Regions from separate parts of the Homo sapiens genome. Here all the other regions are linked to region 3. The links are contacts of gene promoters, found by promoter capture Hi-C in blood cells and fetal thymus (Javierre and others, 2016). All regions are on one chromosome and are shown on one strand. The core of a region is centred on a gene start or on the middle of the fragment in contact, and the rest is flanking DNA. Distances in the headings are between cores, read along the strand shown.

Region 1 (3,089 bases), core at 404-2,903, 330 kb after region 3:
ATGAGCTAAGGAGGAACCCCATGAGCTCTGTAGATGCACGTGCGCTGCCTCTGTGAAGACAGCCTCCTCCCTGGGGGGCATCCGGCGGGGGGCTGGGACTGGCTTACTGAGAGGCACCCGGCTGGGCTGGGCGACGGTGAAGGGAACCCTGACTGCATGGTTTTCAGTTGCACGTGGGTGCTTGGCATGTGCGTGTGTGCCATGCCTGTGTGTGCACACTTGTGTGTGCTCTTGGTCATCAGAACGCCCGCAGCGGTGCTCATCTGATCCCACAGGCACACACGCACTTGAACATTCTGTTTATATGATCATGCGTTTTCATATTTTGAAAACAAAGCAAGCTCCATGATGCCCATGGCACAGCACACAGAAAGTCTACCCACTGCAGCAGGATCCTGGCCGGGGGGGCCTGGTAGCAGCTGGAGACCAGGCCAGGGCCTCTGTGGGAGCCTCTGTGGAGGCACCAGGATGGGGCAGGGTTTGTTCACCCGGAGTGGGTGTGGCTGTTCTAAGCACAGTGGCCTTCGTTCCCACAGAGGACAGGACTCCGAGAGGCCCCACCCCGCCCCGACCGGTGCCGGTGGCCCGCTCCAGAGCAGCATACTGGTCACATGCCCTTGTCACATGGATGGGGACGTGCCTGGTGACACTCGGGAGTCCTGGCCTCCCAGACCGGGAGGGGCTGTGTGGCTCGGCCTTCTCGGCACGGTGCTGCCCTGTACAGGAGGGGCCTGGGCTGGTGTTTGCTATCACAAAAGCCTGGCGAGGGAGTCTGACCTGCCATCAACACACCCGCAGGGGCCTCCCCAAGGCAGGAAGCTTCAGTCCCACACCTTCCGGGTGCTGCTGCCGGGCCCAGGAGCTCAGCATTCCCCACGTGCAGGGGCTGCGGCCGTGAGAAACTGTCCTTGGAATCTCAGAGCCTGCGAGTCTCCCCCAACTCCCCAGGCTGCCTGGTAAAACCTAGCAAGTCTGAAAATGGGTCCCCTAGAGAACGGGAGGCAGTCCTGGGAGAAGGGCACTCCTCTCCCACGCCTGGCCGAGGCATATCCCCATCCCACTTCGTCCCAGCAAACTTCCCTGGTGCTGCCCTAAGGCTTCATCCACTCAATTCCTGAACCTTCCAACCTTTGCCGGAGGCCAGGCTCACTCTGGCCTCTTCAACAGTAGACAGGAAAAGAAGCATTGGTGATCGAAGTCCCTGAGCTCCCCGAAGTGACCCTCAGCCTTCTCTGCTCCTGATCCCAGGGGCCTGGCCTGTGGGCTTCTTCTCTGGGAGCCCCTGCTCCTGCCCGGGTCAGCTGAGCTGCCTCCGGGCACCCGGGTCCCAGCGTCTCCTCCCACAGCCCAGTGACAGGCAGCGCCCTGGCTTGGACTGGCCATCCACAAAGCCTGCCCTGGGCGGCGCTGCAGTTTTGTTTGACTCGGCCTGTGAACTCACACAAGAATAAGGCCGAGGATGGAGCCCTTTCGGCAGCAGGGTTGGAGATGCTTGGGTGCCCCCCTACCCGACGTGTCCCACACAATCTCCCAGAAAGGAGGGATTTTACACCCTCCAATGCATTTTCTCACATCCCCCACCCTGACACATCCTTAGACTGGAATGGTGGTGCCTGGCCCTGGGACCGCCATGCTTTTGAGGCTGACTGACTGCTGAGAAAGGACACACTGGACTCTGCGTCTCCAGCCCGGATGCAAAGCACCTGCCAGTCTGAGCATTCAGGCTCTGCCCAGCCAGAGGCTTCCCACCCAGCTGGGGCCATGTGCCCCTCTGGCATGTTGAGGCAGCCCAATCTGTCTGCCTGCCTGACTGTCTGTCTGCCTGCCAGTCTGCCTGCTTGCCAGTCTGTCTATCTGCCTTCCTGCCTGTCCATCTGCTTGTCTGTCTGCCTGTCTGTCTGCCTGCCTGTCTGTCCATCTGTCTGTCCACCTGCCTGTCTGTCTGCCTTCTTGCCTGTCTGCCCTGCCTGTCTGTCTGCCTGTCTGTCCATCTGTCTGTCTGCCTACCTATCTATCTATCTGCCTTCCTGCCTGTCTGCCCTGCCTGTCTGTCTGCCTGTCTGCCTGCCTGTCTGTCCATCTGTCTGTCCACCTGCCTATCTTCCTTCCTGCTTGTCTGCCCTGCCTGTCTGTCTGCCTGTCTGTCCATCCATCTGTCCATCTACCTGTCTGTCTGCCTTCCTGCCTGTTTGCCTGTCTGTCTGTCTGCCTGTCTGTCCGCCTGCCTGTCTGTCTTCCTGTCTGTCCGCCTGCCTGTCTGTCTGCCTGCCTGTCTGTCTTCCTGTCTGTTTGCCTGCCTATCTTCCTGTCTGTCCGCCTGCCTGTGTGTCTGCCTGTCTGTCTGCATGTGTGCTCAAACACGGCTCATTCAGTTCCTGGTTTCTTTGGAAATGCAGAGACTTTTGCAGAAAGTCCACCTAATGGCTCTTGCATAAACCCTAGCAATTGTGGATCCGAGGTAAGAAATGGGATTGGAAAAGAAGCTTGTTCATAAAACTGGAGAGCAAGTCCCTTGTGTGAAGCTCTGGGGCCGGGGAGAGCCACGAACAGGGCTGTGCGTTCAATTTGGTTGCAGAGAGCCCTGAACGTGGCCCTCTCTTGCTTCTAATCTAAATAAATGGCCCAGACAGAGAAGTCCATTTGAAATTTAGGGGAGCCGTGAGCCCAGGGCTGCGAGGGAGCAGAGTTCTCCGAGCAGCTGGGGTCTGCGTTGTAAATAAGCTGACAAGCGGCCAGTGAAATTGATGGTCTCACTGCGTAAAATAACACGCCCGTGAGCTCCAAAAGGAAGGAGAACGTGCAGGGTAGCCTGGCCCTGGTGCAATGCGGAGGGCCTTGAGAGGACCTTGCTGTGACCGTGCCTGCTGCACTCCCAGAGAAGCCATTGGCAGGGGAACAACAGAGTATGGGCAGGTCAGGGGGGGTGGCCAGGGCCCCCGAGCCCCTGAGCACTGGGCAGCGGCATCCTTCCTAGGATCCAGTGAGGTCTCCTGCAGCCACTACAGGGGGATCTGCTTTTGGTGACTGTAAAAGTGAGGGAAGAGGAAGAAAGAAGAGATTTTGAAACCCAGCCGTAAAAATACAACTAA
Region 2 (3,237 bases), core at 491-2,990, 280 kb after region 3:
TTCTGCCCCCATGGGCGGCCACGGCCACCAAGGCTGGGCTTGGCTGGACCCACGATGGTCACCTGCTGTGTGAGGCGGTGGCTGGAGCCTCGTCCATCCTGCAGACCCTCAGAGCACCCAACCCGAGACCACATCCGTGTCTCCAGGCCGCCGCCACAGGAGGTCCTCCCAGCCCAAGAGCTCTGTCCTTCGGAGGACTCCCTTACCCAGCGTGGAGGTGGGCGGGAGTCCCTCCTCCTCTGCTCACGGGGCCCGACTGGGCCTGCCACCCACGCAGGAGCCACGCTTCCTGCAGGGAGAGTGTCCTGACAGCTGCTTGCCCTTGAGAATCCCCAGCAGATGGAGCTGCAGTCCCCGTGGACGAGGACCCAGCAGGTCATGGGAGGCCTCGGTTGCTGGATGAGCAGGGCCACGACATGCGTACGTGCCCAGGCCGGCCAGGCCGGTCAGCAGCTCATATGGGTGACTGCAGGTTCTGAGAAAGGTCTGGGAGAGCCGCCCACCAGCCGCTTACCCCAAATAGCGATGATTCCCCAGACAGTTCACTGTGAATGCCAGGAGCTGTCGGGGGCCCAGCTGGGGGAGGAGGCCGGAGCTTCCCGCCCCAGGGCAGCAATCTAAAGCCCTGAGGAGGTCAGAGGCAAACATGCAGCTGCCTGAGGCAGAGGGGACCGGAGGACACAGAGCTCAGAGAACACAAAGCCTGCCTGGCTGGGGGCAGAGCTGGGGGAGGGGCAGCCGCTATCCCAGACCCCTCCCCCTCCCCCAGCCCCATCCCATGCTGAGTCAGAGGTTGGGAGTTTCCCATAGCTGGTCCCTGGAGCTCTACAGGAAGCCCCTGTCTCCAGGGACAAGGCGGCTCCCTGCCCACCCTCAGGGCCCCAAAGTTCCGCAAGGGCACCCCACAGGCAGCAGATGGGTGGGACTCGCCAGGGGCGGGGCTGATATAAGAATGCGCCAGCAACCACCACTGTTGGGGCAGCCCTGTGCCAGGCACTACAGGCCCCTAATCATCTCCCAGCGCCACCCAAGCCCACGAGGGGACCAGAGGCACCGCCCCTCAGGTTAGCATTGAGGCTGAGGCTCAGGAGACTCGATGCTCCGGGGTCCTCCTGCATATAGGGAGCAGCACAGGGTCGAGACCACACATACCCCTGCCCAGGCACACACACCCACGCACACACACCCCTGCCCAGGCACACACACCCACGCACACACACCCCTGCCCATGCACACATACCTGTCCATGCACACACACATCCCTGCCCACGCACACACACCCCTGGCCAGGTACACACACCCACGCACACCCCTGCCCACGCACACACACCCCTGGCCAGGCACACACACCCACGCACACCCCTGCCCATGCACACACACCCCTGCCCACACACATACCCCTGGCCAGGCACACACACCCACGCACATACACCCCTGCCCACGCACACACACCTGTCCACGCACACACACCCCTGCCCACACACACATCCATGCACATACACCCATGCATACACACCAGGGTGCCGGATGCTCCCGAGCCACCCTCCGGGCCTTGGGGCCAGCCCACTCACACACACCCCTGACCACGCACACACAGCCATGCACAGACACCCTTGCCCACGCACACACACCTACTCACATACATCCCTGACCACGCAGATACACAGACATCCCTGCCCACGCACACACACCCACTCACACACACCTGACCGAAAACACAGCCACTCACACACACCCCTACCCACTCACACATAACCCTGACCACGCATACACACCCCTGCCCACGCACACACATCCCTGCCTGTGCACACACCCGTCCATGCACACACATCCATGCACACACCCGCGCACACACAACCATGCATACACACCCCTGCCCCACACCCATGCACACACACTGCTGCCCAGGCACACAAACCCATGCACACCTACACACACACATACCTGCCCACGCACACACAACCCTGTCCACACACACCCGTGCAGACACACCCGTGCAGACACCCCTGCCCATGCATACACACCCTTGCCCATGCATACACACCCCTGCCCCCACACACCCATGCATACACACCAGGGTGCTGGATGCTCCCGAGCCACCCTCCAGGCCTCGGGGCCAGCCCACTCACACACACCACTGACCATGCACACACAGCCATGCACAGACACCCCACCCCACACACACACCCACGCACACACACCCCACCCCACCCCACGCACATACCCCCGTGCATGGCTGCAGCTGCATGTCCAGCCTCTCTACCTCCAGGCCCTGCAACCAGAGCTCAGGTCCAGCCACCAGACACCTTTGGGTGGAACATGACCCAGAGCTGCAACTCGAGGCTTCCTGCCTACAGGTGAGCAGCTTGTGGCCACCACTGCCTGGATCATGCAGCCCTCTGTGCCTGGACGTCCTGGTGGGGTGGTGCTTGGCAGTGGGGCAGGGTTGTACCCCTGGGAAGTGCTCCACGTCTTAAGAACGACCAGGATGCCACAGCCCCAGTGCTTAGCCCGGCCCTGGGGCCAGCTCTTGGTGGCCTCAAGGACCCTCAGAGGTCATCACACTCCGCGGGAGCCAGCAGCTGCTCTAAACCATCCACATCAAGGTGCAGCGCAGGCTCCCAGGGGCCTGCTGATGACAGTGCGGTGCCCACGGGGGGAGGCACCTTCCTGGCAGAGGACCCTGTGTGGAAGGCTGTGGCGTGGCCTCACCTCTGACTGGCACCCAGGACATCCAGGATGTTGGAGAAGAGGTGGTGGTGCTCCATCTGGGTCACGGTCGCCCGCAGCTCCTTGGACTGCAGGAACTCCTCCACCAGGATGCTCAGGCTGTGCTGGTAGGAGAACTCCGACGTGAGGATCTCGAACATGGCCTGTGGAGAGGGGCCTAGGTGAGCCCCACAGTGACGCTGGACACGGGCGTGCCTCGGTGACCAATGCTTGGAACAGGAGGACGTGACCCGGGTGGCAGGGGCAGGTGGGGACAGGAACCCCAGACACACCCCTGGATGGGGCTGTCAGAATGGCCAGCTTGGAGATGCCAGCCCGACGTCCCTGGATGCCCCTGGCTGGGTGCCTTATGAGCCGGCTGAAGCTGGGCAACGACCCCCGTCCTTGTCAGAGAAGGGGGTGATGGCAGCCCCTGGACTCCGAGGATTCACCCGGTGACGTGAAGGGGCTCCGTCAGGGCCTGGCGCAGGTGGAAGCACAGCCCGGGGCTGTGTGAGGCGCTGGTCA
Region 3 (3,544 bases), core at 149-2,648:
CTGCTTCTGCCTGACTGTCGGCTGAGATTCACAGACAGGCCCCCCGACCCCACCCACACATGCTGCTGGTCACAGGCACTAAGCCACTCTCCCACTGGGGTTGAAAGGGCCTGCGTGTGTGCAGGCTGCAGCAGTGTGTCCCCTCTGTCCCCTCTCCAGCACACTGGATGCTCAGCAAGAGCCACGCAGACCCACTTTGGAAACCATAGTCCAGCCGGGCATGGTGGCTCATGCCTGTAATCCCAGCACTTTGGGAGGCCAAGGCGGGCAGATCACATGAGGTTGGGAGTTTGAGACCAGCCTGACCAACATGGAGAAACCCCATCTCTATTAAAAATACAAACAAACAAACAAATAAAATTAGCCGGGCAAGGTGGCACATTGTAATCCCAGCTACTCTGGAGGCTGAGGCTGGAGAATCACTTGAACCCAGGAGGTGGAGGTTGCGGTGAGCCAAGATCGCGCCATTGCACTCCAGCCCGGGTGACAAGAGTGAAACTCCGTCTCAAAAAAAAAAAAAAAAAAAAGAAAAAGAAAAAAAGAAACCATAGTCCACTAGGTCCAGGCAATGCATTCACCCAGGAAGCTGCCAGGAGCCGGGGTGACCATCTCGGGCTCCCCCAGTACACGGTGGCACAGCGTACCTGACTGGCTGAGGTCCCCTTTCACATTTTCTCCCCTTCACTCTCCTTTTCAAGATGCACCTTGGGAGTCTTGGGGCAAACTGTACATCTTCTCCCCTTGGCCAACCAGAGACACCGGGAGCCAAGGTCTGCAAGAGGGGAGGACCAACCCAAAGCAGCTAACCCAGAAGAAGCCGGTGGCATGTGGGGACTAAGGCACCAGGCCCTTCAGAAAGGGAGAGGACCGCAGGGCTCTTTCCACCCCTAGCGCTCAATTCGTTGCCTGCCTGGAATCCCCCTTTGGTAACCCATCACCAGAAGGCCTGTGGAATGCTTTGTGGGCTGACAGCTCTATGGGCCTTTGGGGAGGAGAAGAAACAGGTCACCTCAAGGCTCGTGGCAGCCCTCCTCCCGGGACCCCATACCGTCTTCCTGTAGTAGCGGCTGATGGTCTGGACCGACTTGCTGAGCGTGCGTGGCTTTTGGTGCGGTTTCCATTCTGGGCACCGGGCGTCCCGGCTGGCCATGCTCTGGAGGAGCACCAGGGCCCTGGCCATCGAGCTGGACATCGAACTGTGCCTCTGAGATGGGCTGGCCTCCTTAGGTAACATGAGGCGTGGGATGCAAAGACCAAGTGAGCTTTGTTGCCTGAATGTGGACCTGAATGAGGACAGGCCCGGCTTTTCCCGTGGATCTCTCTTCAGCCTGGCTTGGGGTGTGGAGGGGAAGATGGCCTCGAACATGAACCTGCTGGCTGGTGCAGTGGGAGGAGATCAGCTTCCAGAGCTCCAGGTCCTGTGGGCTCCTGGGAGCAGTGGTGGCATCACAGATGTCTCCATAGAAACCGTTATTGAGCAAAAGGGGCCCGCGGCTGGATGCGCTGGAGGCCAGTGCTGTGACACCAGGTTTTTGAGAAGAGCAAAGCTCAATATTGAAGGTTGCCTTCTGGGCTGGGTGTGGTGGCTCACACCTGTAATCCCAGCACTTTGGGATGCCCAGGTGGGAGGCATGCTTGAGCCCAGGAGTTAAACATTTTAATTAGCCAGGCATGGTGGCGTGCACCTGTAGTCCCAGCTCCTCAGGAGGCTGAGATGAGAGGATCACCTGAGCCTGGGGAGGTCGAGGTTGCAGTGAGCTGTGTTCACGTCACTGCACTCCAGCCTGGACTACAGAGTGAGACCCTATCTCCAAAAGAAAAAAGAAAAAAAGAAAAAAAAAAAGAAAGAAAAGAAAAAAAGAAAAGTCAGCTCCCAAGGACACAGGAGTCCAGCTCAAATGTCTCCATGTGCTGGCTTGAAGACAGTAATTGTATTAGAAAAGGTTAGGCTGGGTGCGGTGGCTCATGCCTGTAATCCCAGCACTTTGGGAGGCCGAGGTGGGCGGATCACGAGGTCAGGAGATCGAGACCATCCTGGCTAACACAGTGAAATCCCGTCTCTACTAAAAGTACAAAAAATGAGCCGGGCGTGGTGGCGGGCGCCTGTAGTCCCAGCTACTTGGGAGGCTGAGGCAGGAGAATGGCGTGAACCCAGGAGGCGGAGCTTGCAGTGAGCAGAGATCGCACCAGAGCACTCCAGCCTGGGCAACAGAGTGAGACTCCATCTCAAAAAAAAAAGGTTTAGGGGGTGGGCTCTGGGATTAGAAACATTTGGCCAAGAAATACCTAGAAGAGTAGATAAGAGTAGCCTGACTCCCTGGGAATGATTTTCCAGGCTTCAAATGCCTACCTCAAGACATCTTTTAAGGAGAGAAAGACAAAACCCCTACCTTCAGAAGCCTTGATTAGGGTCTGAATGGGAAGAAAGGCTTCTCTGCTTGCTGACTGAAGGAAATTTGAAGGGGGCCTGCCCCATCCACACCTGTGGGTATTTCTCTTCAGGTGGAGATGAGAGACTGAGAAAAGAAACAAGACGCAGAGACAAAGTATAGAGAAAGAACAGTCAGCCCAGGGGACCGGCACACTCAGCATGCAAGGACCTGCATCGGCGCTGGTCTCTGAGTTCCCTCAGTATTTATGGATCACTGTTTTTACTACCTTGGTGAGGGGAGTGTGGCAGGGCAACAGGGTGATGGTGGGGAGAAGGTCAGAAGGGAAACGTGAGCAAAGGAATCTGTATCATGAATAAGTTTAAGGAAAAGTACTGTGCCTGGATGTGCACGTAGGCTAGATTTATGTTTCACTTTACACAAACATCTCAGTGTAGCAAAGAGGAACAGAGCAGTATTGCTGCCAGCATATCTCGCCTCCAGCCACAGGCTGGTTTTCTCCTATCTAAGAGTAGAACGAATGGTCGGCTTTACACCAAGACATTCTGTTCCGAAGGATGAGCAGGAGATAGAAATCTTCCTCTTATCTCAACTGCTGCAAAGAGGCCTCCCTCTTTAACTACTCCTCCTCAGCACAGACCCTTCATGGGTATCAGGCTGGGGGATGTAAGGTCTTTCCTTTCCCACAAGGCCACATCTCAGGCTGTCTCAGTGGGGGGAAACCTTGGACAGGCTTTCTTGGGCAGAGGTCCCTGCAGCTTTCCTCAGTGTATTGTGTCCCTGGTTAATAGAGAATGGAGGATGGCGGTGACTTTTACCAGGCATGCTGCCTGCAAACGGATGGTTAACAAGGCATACCCTGCACAGCCCTAAATCCATTAAACCTTGATTCAATACAGCACATGCTTCTGTGACACAGGGTTTCGGCTAAAGTTACAGATTAACAGCATCTCAAAGCAGAACAATTTTTCTTCATACAGATCGAAATGGAGTTTCTTATGTCTTCCTTTTCTACATAGACACAGTTACAATCTGATCTCTCTTTCTTTTCCCCACAGAAATTCATGACCCCATCCTTTCCAATATGACTTTATAAAAAATATTTATCATCCAAAAATCTCTTCAGTTTTTTGCATCTAAAGTACAAAACAAGC
Region 4 (3,355 bases), core at 781-3,280, 300 kb after region 3:
TGTTACCTGGCTGGTAAGTGGCCCAGCCACAGTTAGAGCCCAGGTCTGTCTGACGCCAAAGCCCAGGATCCCTAGTCATCATTAGGGACCATTTCTGGTTTACAAAGACATGCATATAGTATTTATATTTTTATATAAAAATATATAAAAGCAACCCCATGTATCTTCCCCAAATTGAGAATTTAAAACATGTCAGGTGTTTTGGCCATGACGAAGTAGTCGGTACCAGACTTGTCTGTCACCACAAACAACTCAAACATGGAACAAAAAATACGAGAAACAACTCTTTCTAACACTGGACAACAGGTGCAGAGACAGAAATTCCTGGAGAAAGAGGTAAATAAGCCTTTGGCCAAGAGAGGCTGGTGGCCTCACTGGGCTACAGGGGACAGAGTTGGGGAGCCAAGGAGGCCAAGGACTATGGAGAGAGTCCTGGAGAGAAGGCAGCAGTGCAGGGGAGCCCCGAAAGAGTCCTGGAGAGAAGGCAGCGACGTAGTGGAGCCCCCAAAATCCCCACAGGGGTCCACTTGAGCCTTTGGCTGAATACTGAACTGTGCATAAGCAGAGTAAGATCCCATGAAGCCAGGGACCAACAGCGACCAGGGAGCTCTGTGAGCAGAGTGACACCAGAGTTCATACCAGGCCAGGGGACGCTGGAACGTCAGCCACCAGGAAGGAAGCACCGTCGCTGACTATCCCTCGTTGACCTCAGCCGCTTGGGAGTCTGAGGTGGGAGGATCGCTTGAGCCTGGGGAGGACGAGTCTCCAGTGAGCTATGATCGAGCCAGTGTACTCCAGCCACTGTACCAAGACTCTGTCTCAAAAAAAGAATGTCTGAAAAATTTCCAAATGTGATAAAAACTTGTAGATCCACAGATCCAAGAACCTCAAAGCAATGGAGAATAAGTCCAAAGAAGTCAAAGCAGCATACGTACAAAGCAGACCCCACCACAGTACCTCATAATGAAATGGCTGAAAACCAGGGACAGAGGGAAAAAATCCTGACCACCCAGAATATTCAGTAGATACCAAAGAAGGCCATGTCCTAGGTGAAGGGCTGAAGTAATCCTAGGGTGACAGCTCCTCTAGACATGACCTAACAGAAGTTCAAAGCAAGTCCTGAGAGGACCAGGCTGATCCACAAGTACGTTAACTGTGCATCAGCATAACACTCAACATGCTTGAAAAGAAGGCCAGTAAAATCCAGAAACTCAAACAATTTGACATTTACGACCTCCAGCACCCAATGCAAAATTACACATTTACAACCTCCAGCACCCAATGCAAAATTACACATTTACGACCTCCAGCACCCAATGCAAAATTACACATTTACGACCTCCAGCACCCAATGCAAAATTACACATTTACGACCTCCAGCACCCAATGCAAAATTACTAGACATGTGAAGAAGCAGGAACAGGAACCTGTGACAAATAACTAGGAAAAAAATCAGTCAGTAGAAGCAGACCCAGAAATGACACGGATGACAGGATTCGCAGAGAAGGCATTTAAAACAACAATCAAAAATACCCCAAAGGATCAGCTGGGCATGGTGCCGCATGCCTGTAATCCCAGCACTTGGGAAGGCTGAGATGGTGAGTTGCTTGAGTCCAGGAGTTCAAGACCAGCCTGGGCAACGTGGTGAAACCCCATCTCTACAAAAAATACAAAAAATTAGCTAGGTGAGCTACTCAGGAGACTGGGGTGGGAGGATCACTTGAGCCCAGGATTTGGAGGCTGCAGTGAGCTGAGCTCGCACCACTGCCCTCCAGCCTGGGCAACAGAGCCAGACCCTGTCTCTCTCTCTCTATACACACACACACACACACACACACACGCGGACACACACGGACACACATATACACACACACACATATATATAATATATACACACACACCACCCAAGGATTTATAGGAAACGATGATCACAGTCAAAGGAGAGATGGAAAGTATAATAATGAATCAAATGGAAATCCTAAAGATGAAAATATACAGTGTAGGAAACAAAAAATCTATTGGATGAGATTAACAGCAGATGAAACTACAGAGGAAAACAATCAGTAAACTTGAAGCCAGGACAAGTTACTCAGACTGAAGCACGCAGAGGAAAAACCTAGGGAAAAGGCAGAAACCGAGCCTTGCCCACCTTGAGACGGTATCAGGCATCAGGCAGTCTAACAATATGTGTAACTGGAGGACCAGAAAGGAGGGAGTGGGGAGGGAAGAACATATGTTTAAAGCAATGGCTGGGTACAGTGGCTCACGCCTGTAATCCCAGAACTTTGCATGACTGAGGCGGGCGGATCACTTGAGGCCAGAAGTTCGAGACAAGCCTGGGCAACATGGTGAAACCCTGTCTCTACTAAAAGTACAAAAATTAGCCAGGCATGGTGGTGCATGCCTATAGTCCCAGCTACTTGGGAGGCTGAGGTGGGAGGATTGCTTGAGCCCAGGGAGGTCGAGGCTCCAGTGAGCTGTGATTGAACCACTGTACTCCAGCCTGGGTGACAGACCAAGACTCTGTCTTATTAAAAAAAAAAAAAAAGGAAGAATGGCTGAAAATTTTTCAGATGTAATAAAAACTCATAGATCCACAGAATCAAGGACCTTAAAATGAAGTAGAATAAGTACAAAGATGTCAAGGCAGCATACGTACAAAGCAGACCACACCAAGGTACCTCATAATGAAATGGCTGAAAACCAGTGACAGAGGGAAAAATCGTAAGGGAATAAAGACCAAAATAACTGCTGGCTTGTCATCAGAAACACTGAAAGCTGAGAGAACTACAACAACATCTTTAAAGTGCTGAAAGAAAACAAAACTGTCAACCAAGATGTCCATTTCTCTTGAAAATATCCTTCAAAAATGAAAGGAAAATAAAGACATGTTAAGGCAAACGCTGAGAAAATTCATCACCAGTAGACCCACACTATAAGAAATGTCACAGGAATTTTTTCAGGCGAAAGGAAAATGATACCAGATATAAATTCAGGTCTGCACAAGGAGTAGAAACCCACTGGAAATGGCAAATATGTCAATAAATGTGAGAGGCTTTTTTTCTGTGCTTCAAAACATTCCTTTTTTTTTTTTTTTTTTAAATGGAGTCTCACTCTGTCGCCCAGACTGGAGTGTAGTGGCACGATCTCAGCTCACTGCAACCTCCACTTCTTGGGTTCAAGTGATCCTCCTGCCTCAGCCTCCCCAGTAGCTGGGACTACAAGCACACACCACCATGCCTGGCTAATTTTTGTATCTTTTTAGTAGAGATGGGGTTTCACCATTTTGGCCAGGCTGGTCTTGAACTCTTGACCTTGTGATCTGCCCGCCTTGGCCTCCCAAAGGGCTGGGATT

What was found. The method cuts DNA at HindIII sites, captures the fragments that hold promoters and counts their contacts. A CHiCAGO score of 5 or more calls a contact.
Region 1: a contact is called between a fragment that was not itself captured here and the fragment with the promoter of CCDC27 in region 3, in 1 of 17 cell types (neutrophils). The highest score is 6.5, in neutrophils.
Region 2: a contact is called between a fragment that was not itself captured here and the fragment with the promoter of CCDC27 in region 3, in 1 of 17 cell types (neutrophils). The highest score is 8.3, in neutrophils.
Region 4: a fragment that was not itself captured here is called in contact with the fragment with the promoter of CCDC27 in region 3 in 2 of 17 cell types (neutrophils and activated CD4 T cells); the score reaches 6.0 in neutrophils.

Annotation. Positions count from the first base shown.
Region 1 is chr1:3,421,108-3,424,196 of GRCh38, reverse strand. All of the region lies in intron 12 of PRDM16 (PR/SET domain 16), which reads right to left. Among named protein-coding and RNA genes, the nearest start is that of ARHGEF16, 32 kb to the left of the region's middle. RefSeq lists an enhancer at 3,033-3,089. The HindIII fragment of the contact is 1,664 bases long and covers 822-2,485 here.
Region 2 is chr1:3,469,069-3,472,305 of GRCh38, reverse strand. ARHGEF16 (Rho guanine nucleotide exchange factor 16) reads right to left here. Exons shown (of 15, transcript NM_014448.4): 6 at 2,713-2,873. Among named protein-coding and RNA genes, the nearest start is that of ARHGEF16, 16 kb to the right of the region's middle. RefSeq lists an enhancer at 114-739. The HindIII fragment of the contact is 7,512 bases long and covers 1-3,237 here.
Region 3 is chr1:3,750,304-3,753,847 of GRCh38, reverse strand. It overlaps CCDC27 (coiled-coil domain containing 27), which reads right to left and starts at 1,398. Exons shown (of 12, transcript NM_152492.3): 1 at 1,049-1,398. The coding sequence starts at 1,366. The HindIII fragment of the contact is 5,281 bases long and covers 1-3,544 here.
Region 4 is chr1:3,448,498-3,451,852 of GRCh38, reverse strand. No RefSeq gene overlaps it. Among named protein-coding and RNA genes, the nearest start is that of ARHGEF16, 4.5 kb to the left of the region's middle. The HindIII fragment of the contact is 5,295 bases long and covers 1-3,355 here.